Regions from separate parts of the Homo sapiens genome. Here region 1 is linked to region 2. Evidence: promoter capture Hi-C in human tissues and cell types (Jung and others, 2019). All regions are on one chromosome and are shown on one strand. The core of a region is centred on a gene start or on the middle of the fragment in contact, and the rest is flanking DNA. Distances in the headings are between cores, read along the strand shown.

Region 1 (3,314 bases), core at 765-3,264, 250 kb before region 2:
GCAGAAAGTGGATTATTGTACCACAAGAATGGGGTAAGTTTTCCCTTTAAAATTTCTCCTTTCTAAGGTAGGAAAACACTTTGTCTCTTCCACACTCTGTCCTGTGGTTCAGAAATATAAGCTCTATTACTAACAAGAAAACTGGGCACCCCTGTTTTCCTGTGTGAATTCTATTTTTTGAGACACTTTGAGTGCTGTCTTCCGTCTCTACCTCCATGCTCATCAGAAATGATCTCTTAATATCTACTAGGAGTGTACAACTCACAGAAAACAACTAGCCAGGGAACAAAGGGAAGATGGACAGTGGAAAATCCAATGTTTTAGGTGTTGTTATATTATACCACCAAGTAACAAAGTACTGAAGGTAGAGGCAGTGGGAGAGACAGCCTTGATCGTAATGTCTGTTGAGGAAGGCAATGTTACCTGTACACTCTTCATTCGGAGAAACAAATAACCAAGCAATGGGAGTGAATATTCCATTTTAGGCAAGCAGGGCTGTGCTAGATGAAAGCCTTCCAGGTTCCAGGGATTCAGTTGTGGGTCTGAGGAGGGAGTTAACCATCATCCAGATGGACAATAGGAGAAACCAAAGGTCACTGACACAATTTGTATATTACAGAGGGCCTCATGAAGAAACCAAGATGGAGCCTAGGAAACGTGGCTGCAAAGTAAGGAAAGAAAGCTTCATCCTGAGGTCTCAGAAGACCAGATTTTCAAAAGTAATTTTCTACTGGACAAGGCCCTTAGCGGGATGCAAGAAGATATCACCTCTATTATACAAAAGCAGAAAGCCTCAGGGTTTGGCAAGTAGAGATGAAAATACAATAGGATGAGATAAAGACAGGGATAGTGAGATAGGGGAGGTTGTAATAAAATTACATATTTAATGAAGTATTAAGATTGTCACTGGAGGAAAACATGGGAACAGGCCTTTGTACTGTGTAGTGCATTACACCCAAAGTTATTGCTAGGTCCTCATATTATTCATCAATTAAAACTCTATCAGTGACTTCTACCTTGACTAAAATGGGCTAACAGAGACCAGATTTACCCTCTCACCTAAAACAGTGACAAAACTGGACAAAATGTATGAAACAATGGTTCATAGGACATTATATTATCAGGGAGGACCAAACACTGATCTCTGAGAAGATGAGATGACTCCTACAACTGCCACATCAGACTGTTTGGAAAGAGCTTCTAGGCCGCAGCACAGAGAAGGGGAAGCCAGGCCAACCCTGGAAGTCTCTCTGAGTGGAGGTGAAGCTGGAATCTGGAGCCCACAGTGGCTAGGATTCACAGAGCAGGCACTGGAGAGGAGGGTATGCACAGAGAGCTAGCTCTGAATGTGTGTAGAAGGTCCCCTTTGAGTAACAGCAGAGAGTTCCCTTCAATTATTCAGCTGAGTAGTAATTAGCACACTTGTGGAAGGAAAACACCTAAGGCTAAGGCTGGGGAAAGAACTAGGATTAGAGCGAATAATCCCTGGAGAGAACCAGGAGTAATGCCTATTCCCACCAACCAGGGTAGAAACCCCCCATAATTCGTGAATCATTGATAGAGTATTCAGAAACATTTTTTCTCAGTAGTGAGTAAATGCCTTTCTGGTCCTGTCCAGTGAAGCTTAAAAGATAGATCCAAAAAGATCAGACTGTTTCCAAGTAACCTAACTGTACCTAAAAACAAAGCTCAGGACTTTGTAGGAATGTGAAAATCCAGTACTCAACATTTAGTGAAGAGGCACCATAAATTCTATACAAATTCTTCCAGAAAATTTAAGAGGAGGGAATCCTACGCAACCCTTTTGGTGAGGCCAGCATTACTCTAAAGCCAAAAACAGACAATGACATGATAAGACATGAACATGCAAATCAATATCCCTTATGAACACAGAGGCAAACGTTCTTAATATTTTAGCAAATTGAGGCTCATAATATGTAAAAAGAAATTAAATAAGACCAAATAAACAATTAAGTACATGAAAAGATACTCAACATCATTAAAGCACAAGAATATTTATAACATTTTTATTTATGATAATTATAAATTGGAAGCAATCTAGATGTCCATCAGTAGGTTAACAGACGAACAAATTGTGGAATATCTATGTATTAAAACACTAATCAGCAACTAAAATATGTGAACTATTGATATATACAAAATGGATAAATCTCAAAATTATTACATGGAGTGAAAAAAGGCAGACCCAAAAGAGTAGAGAGTGTATGATAACATTTATATAAAATCTAGACAATGTAATTTAATATATATGGCAGAAAGCAGATCAGTAGTTGTATGGGGATGAAGGGTGGGCGGGTAAGGAGGGTGGAGAAAAGGGATTACAAAGAAAACTTTTAGAGATGATGGGTATGTTCATCATATTAATTGTGGTACTAGTTTTACAGGTATATACGTGTGTCAAAACTTATTAATTATACACTTAAAACATGCAATTTTTTGCCAATTTACAACTCAATCCTTGGATCTTGAACCATTTCTCTAGTTTTCACTGAAGTCTACTGCTCACTCCTGTCATAGAGATGCAGGGGTCCAGGAAGGCTGAGAGGCACTGACACTGTCTCATTAGTGTCCTTCCTCTTCATTCTGCTTTATATGAAATAGCCCTGACCTATGGCCATCTGAGTACGACCCTCAGGTACCACCAGTAAAAAATGCCAACACCCTCTTCCGGATCACAGAGGTCCTGTCCTGGTGCCATGTCCTAAACCCTTTCATGTGACGGCTCTTGGGCAGACCTGACTTGTTCCACTTTCTCCCTTGGTATCTGTGTTACTTGTTCCCTTTCAGTGGGGCAGTGTGGCATAGTGGGAAGAGCACCAGACCAGGCAGCAGAAGACCGTGATTCCACCGCTGAGTTTGTGTTCAGTTGTGTGTGATTTAACACACAAAGTATGTGTGTGTGATTTAACACAAGCAGGCTTACTCCACCACACTCAACCTCAGTTTTCTCATCTGTTTAAAGAGGGGATTGCATTAAAACTGATGTTTACCCAAAGTCTTGAATTACAGAAATCATTCAAGTAAATGACTTAACTAAGTGAAGAACAAAACTGGGTCCCAAGGCCGGGCACGGTGGCTCATACCTGTAATCCCAGCACTTTGGGAGGCCGAGGTGGGTGGATCACCTGAGGTCAGGAGTTGGAGACCAGCCTGGCCAACATGGTGAAACACTGTCTCTACTAAAAATACAAAAATTAGCTGGGCGTGGTGGCGGGTGCCTGTAATCCCAGCTACCCAGGAGGCTGAGGCAGGAGAATCACTTGAACGCGGGAGGCAGAGGTCGGGAGGCAGAG
Region 2 (3,128 bases), core at 112-2,611:
ACCTTCTGACCTGATGCAACAGGAAGTACACAACATTGCCTATGTAGCTTTCTTGCCAAATATATTTATTCTGAATCTAAACATGAGGAAACAATTAGACAAATCTAGATTGCAAGACTTTCTAAAAGACATCTAACCTAGGCTTTGAAAAATGTCTCAAGAACAACAACAAAAAGGGTAGAGGGACATTTTTAGAGAGGCTAAAAAAAACTAAAGAGAATAAAGAGACATGACAACCAATTACAATACATGTTTTTCACTGGATCCTGTATTAGGGGAAAAGTCCACCATGAAGCACTTTTCTGGGGACAATCAGGGGAGATTTGAATATGGTCTCAATATTAGCTATTATATTTATGATAACTCTTGGGGACATGCTAGTGATACAGTGTTTATACAGGGAAATGCCCTTGTTTTTAGGAGATACATGCCTAAATACTTAAGGCAAAAGTATAATAAAATCTGCTACTAATTTTCAAATGGTTTAATAAAGAGAGATGGAAATAGGAGAGACCAAATATGGCAAAATGTCAACAACTGGAGAATATAAGTGAAAGATATACAAATATTCATTCAACATTTCTTTGCCATTCTTTGAGGATTCAATGGGTTTGAAAATTTTCAAATAGCTGGGGGTAAAAATCAGGCAGCAGTTTTGTCTCATCAGTGGAAGCGCAAAAAAGAAAATGAAAGCATATTCCCTCATTCCCAAAGCCCTACCTGAAAGAATAATTTCCAATCCAGTAATTGTGAGTTAAATATTTTAGAGGCAATTTTCTGACTGTAAGGGAGCACTTTATTTGAGGAACGAGTAAAAATAATTGCTTGAATGGAAGAGAGATGTAGGACTTTATTCACCTGATTGGCCCATCCACTTTGGCCTTTTAGAACACAAATGGTTGAGGCTAAATTTCAGAAAACAAAATTTTAATTGATTATTAAAAGTTTTCTGCTCAATATAATCCCCATTAGCATGCCTTATTCCTATGGAGAATATCAGTTGCATAGAATATTAGTTGCTAGAAGGCAGAAATAATAATGATATTTATAAATTACCTGTATAGTATTTAACATAGCACCATACATAAAGATAAACCCTTAATAAAGTGTTCGGTAATTCTGTTAAGGGTGGAAAATATAATAAGCATTTCTTAATCTTCTCTCTCAATCCCAGTTCTCTAACCACTATCATACTCACCTCTAGGCAAAGAAGCAAAAGCTTTTCTGTGTGTTGAATGCATCATTAGGTGAAAAGCGGGTAGGCTAAAAATCAATATGACTACTTACCTTGGTTCCAGTTTTAGACATTTTTGGTGCATAGACTGGTTTTCCCAGTGCTGAAAGAAATTCAGGAATGGCTACAGAGAGTTAGAGGCACAGTGACATTTATATGGGCTGGTTTCAGTCAAACATTTGCTTAGTCATGAGAATAGGATCCAAAAATTGAGTCAGTCATTTAGACGCTATTGATGGTTTCTAGAAAAAACAACTGGGATTATAAAATAAAGGAAAGCTTCAGTACCGCCTTTAATGCTTACCAAGCAGGGCTGCATTACAGACTTTGCTGAGTCAAGAAACCAAAACCCAGACAAAGTTGTAAAAATTAAGAACAAAAGAGTCTCTCTTTTTTTTTTTAAGCAGCCTCTTTGAAATTCCTAATGTCCTTTTTCTTCAACAAAGCTTGTGAGAGGTAAGAGTCAGAAGACTACCTCTATTTCTGGACAGAAGTGACATGTTCTAAACGCAACAAAACTTACATGACAACTAAATGCAATGCATGATCTTGTGTTTGGGGAAAAAAGTCACTATAAAGACACTGCTGGGACAATCAGAAAACATTTTAATATGGACTGTAAATTAGATAATACTATTGTACCAAAGTTTAACTTCTTGAATTTGATCATTGTACTATGACTAGGTAAGAGTATGTCTGTTTCCAGGACATGTATGCTACCATTTAGAAGAAAGGTTCAAGATGTCTGCAACCTATTCTCAAATTGTTGAGCAAAAATAAAACAATACTATCATGTTGAGTGGTAAAGAGAATGTAGCAAAATGTTAACAACTGGTGAATGGAATCTAGATAAAGGGTATGTTAAAGTTCACTGACTTATTCTTGCAACTATTATTTAATTTTTTTCAAAACACAATTTTTTTTAAAAAAAGAGCTCTAATCCATAAGAAGGGTGCCACCGTATGTAGAAAAGTGACTGTGGGACTCCTGAATTTGCCAAGGGTTAGCTAACTAAACACAACAAGCTACTGGCTAGGTGGTCTTCTTTGCCCACAATACAACATTGGAACATGATCGGAGAACATTTTTTGGCCCTAATACACCTCTGACTTTAGGAATGAGATTGCATCTTATGTAAATACAAAAAAACCCAATAAATTAACTTTTCTCCATTTTTAACTTTAACTGATCAAGTATATTCTCAAAATCAAGTATATTCTCAAAAGTCAAACTTCCTCATCTTTCTGTTAACAAAACTAACAAATATTTTAATAAATGGGATGTATTATGGTCAATTCAGAAAATGGCAAATGTGCCTTAATATAAAGATTATTGAGAAAATATTAAGCTATATGCTTGGTTTTCTGAATTTTATAAAATTTTATAAAACTTTAAAACTTTAAAAAAAGTATCTGAGTACCATTTATTTCATTAACAAATAGCAATATCTAAAATATATTTCTATTACTCCAGTGTTTATTTGGTAATGGTCTGCTCCTTGAATTTCATCTTAAAATAAAAACCATGTAAACTTCAATTAGAATTAAACATTCTGAGGGTTAATTTTTACTTTAGAAATACAAAAGAGTTTTTTGATAGAAATACTAATTAAATGGCCAGAGAGCATATGAACCAATGTTTATCAGCAATCTGATTCATTTCACTCATTTGGTAATTTGGTAATTTCACTCATTTATCTGAAAGAAGGTTTTCCCAAGTAAATGTAAACTTTACTAGTTATTTTGAGAAATGACACTGGAAACCTTTTCTAAAATTAAAACTAAAGATTTATCTTTTACAAAAAAAGGAAATTATTCTTTAGAGTTTGTTTATTGAAAATTTGAAGCAGGAAGTGAAAAATAAAGATTTTTTTAAACAATTTCATTAAGTTCCA

Evidence for each region. The method cuts DNA at HindIII sites, captures the fragments that hold promoters and counts their contacts. A contact is called where the count stands out against the background at its distance.
Region 1: a fragment that was not itself captured here is called in contact with the fragment with the promoter of CRYGS in region 2 in 1 of the 25 tissues and cell types used here (aorta).

What each region holds. Positions count from the first base shown.
Region 1 is chr3:186,289,430-186,292,743 of GRCh38, forward strand. All of the region lies in intron 5 of DGKG (diacylglycerol kinase gamma), which reads right to left. Among named protein-coding and RNA genes, the nearest start is that of DGKG, 71 kb to the right of the region's middle. The HindIII fragment of the contact is 3,776 bases long and covers 127-3,314 here.
Region 2 is chr3:186,543,019-186,546,146 of GRCh38, forward strand. CRYGS (crystallin gamma S) reads right to left here and starts at 1,362. Exons shown (of 3, transcript NM_017541.4): 1 at 1,288-1,362. The coding sequence starts at 1,308. It overlaps TBCCD1 (TBCC domain containing 1), which reads right to left. Exons shown (of 8, transcript NM_018138.5): 8 at 3,049-3,128. The HindIII fragment of the contact is 9,271 bases long and covers 1-3,128 here.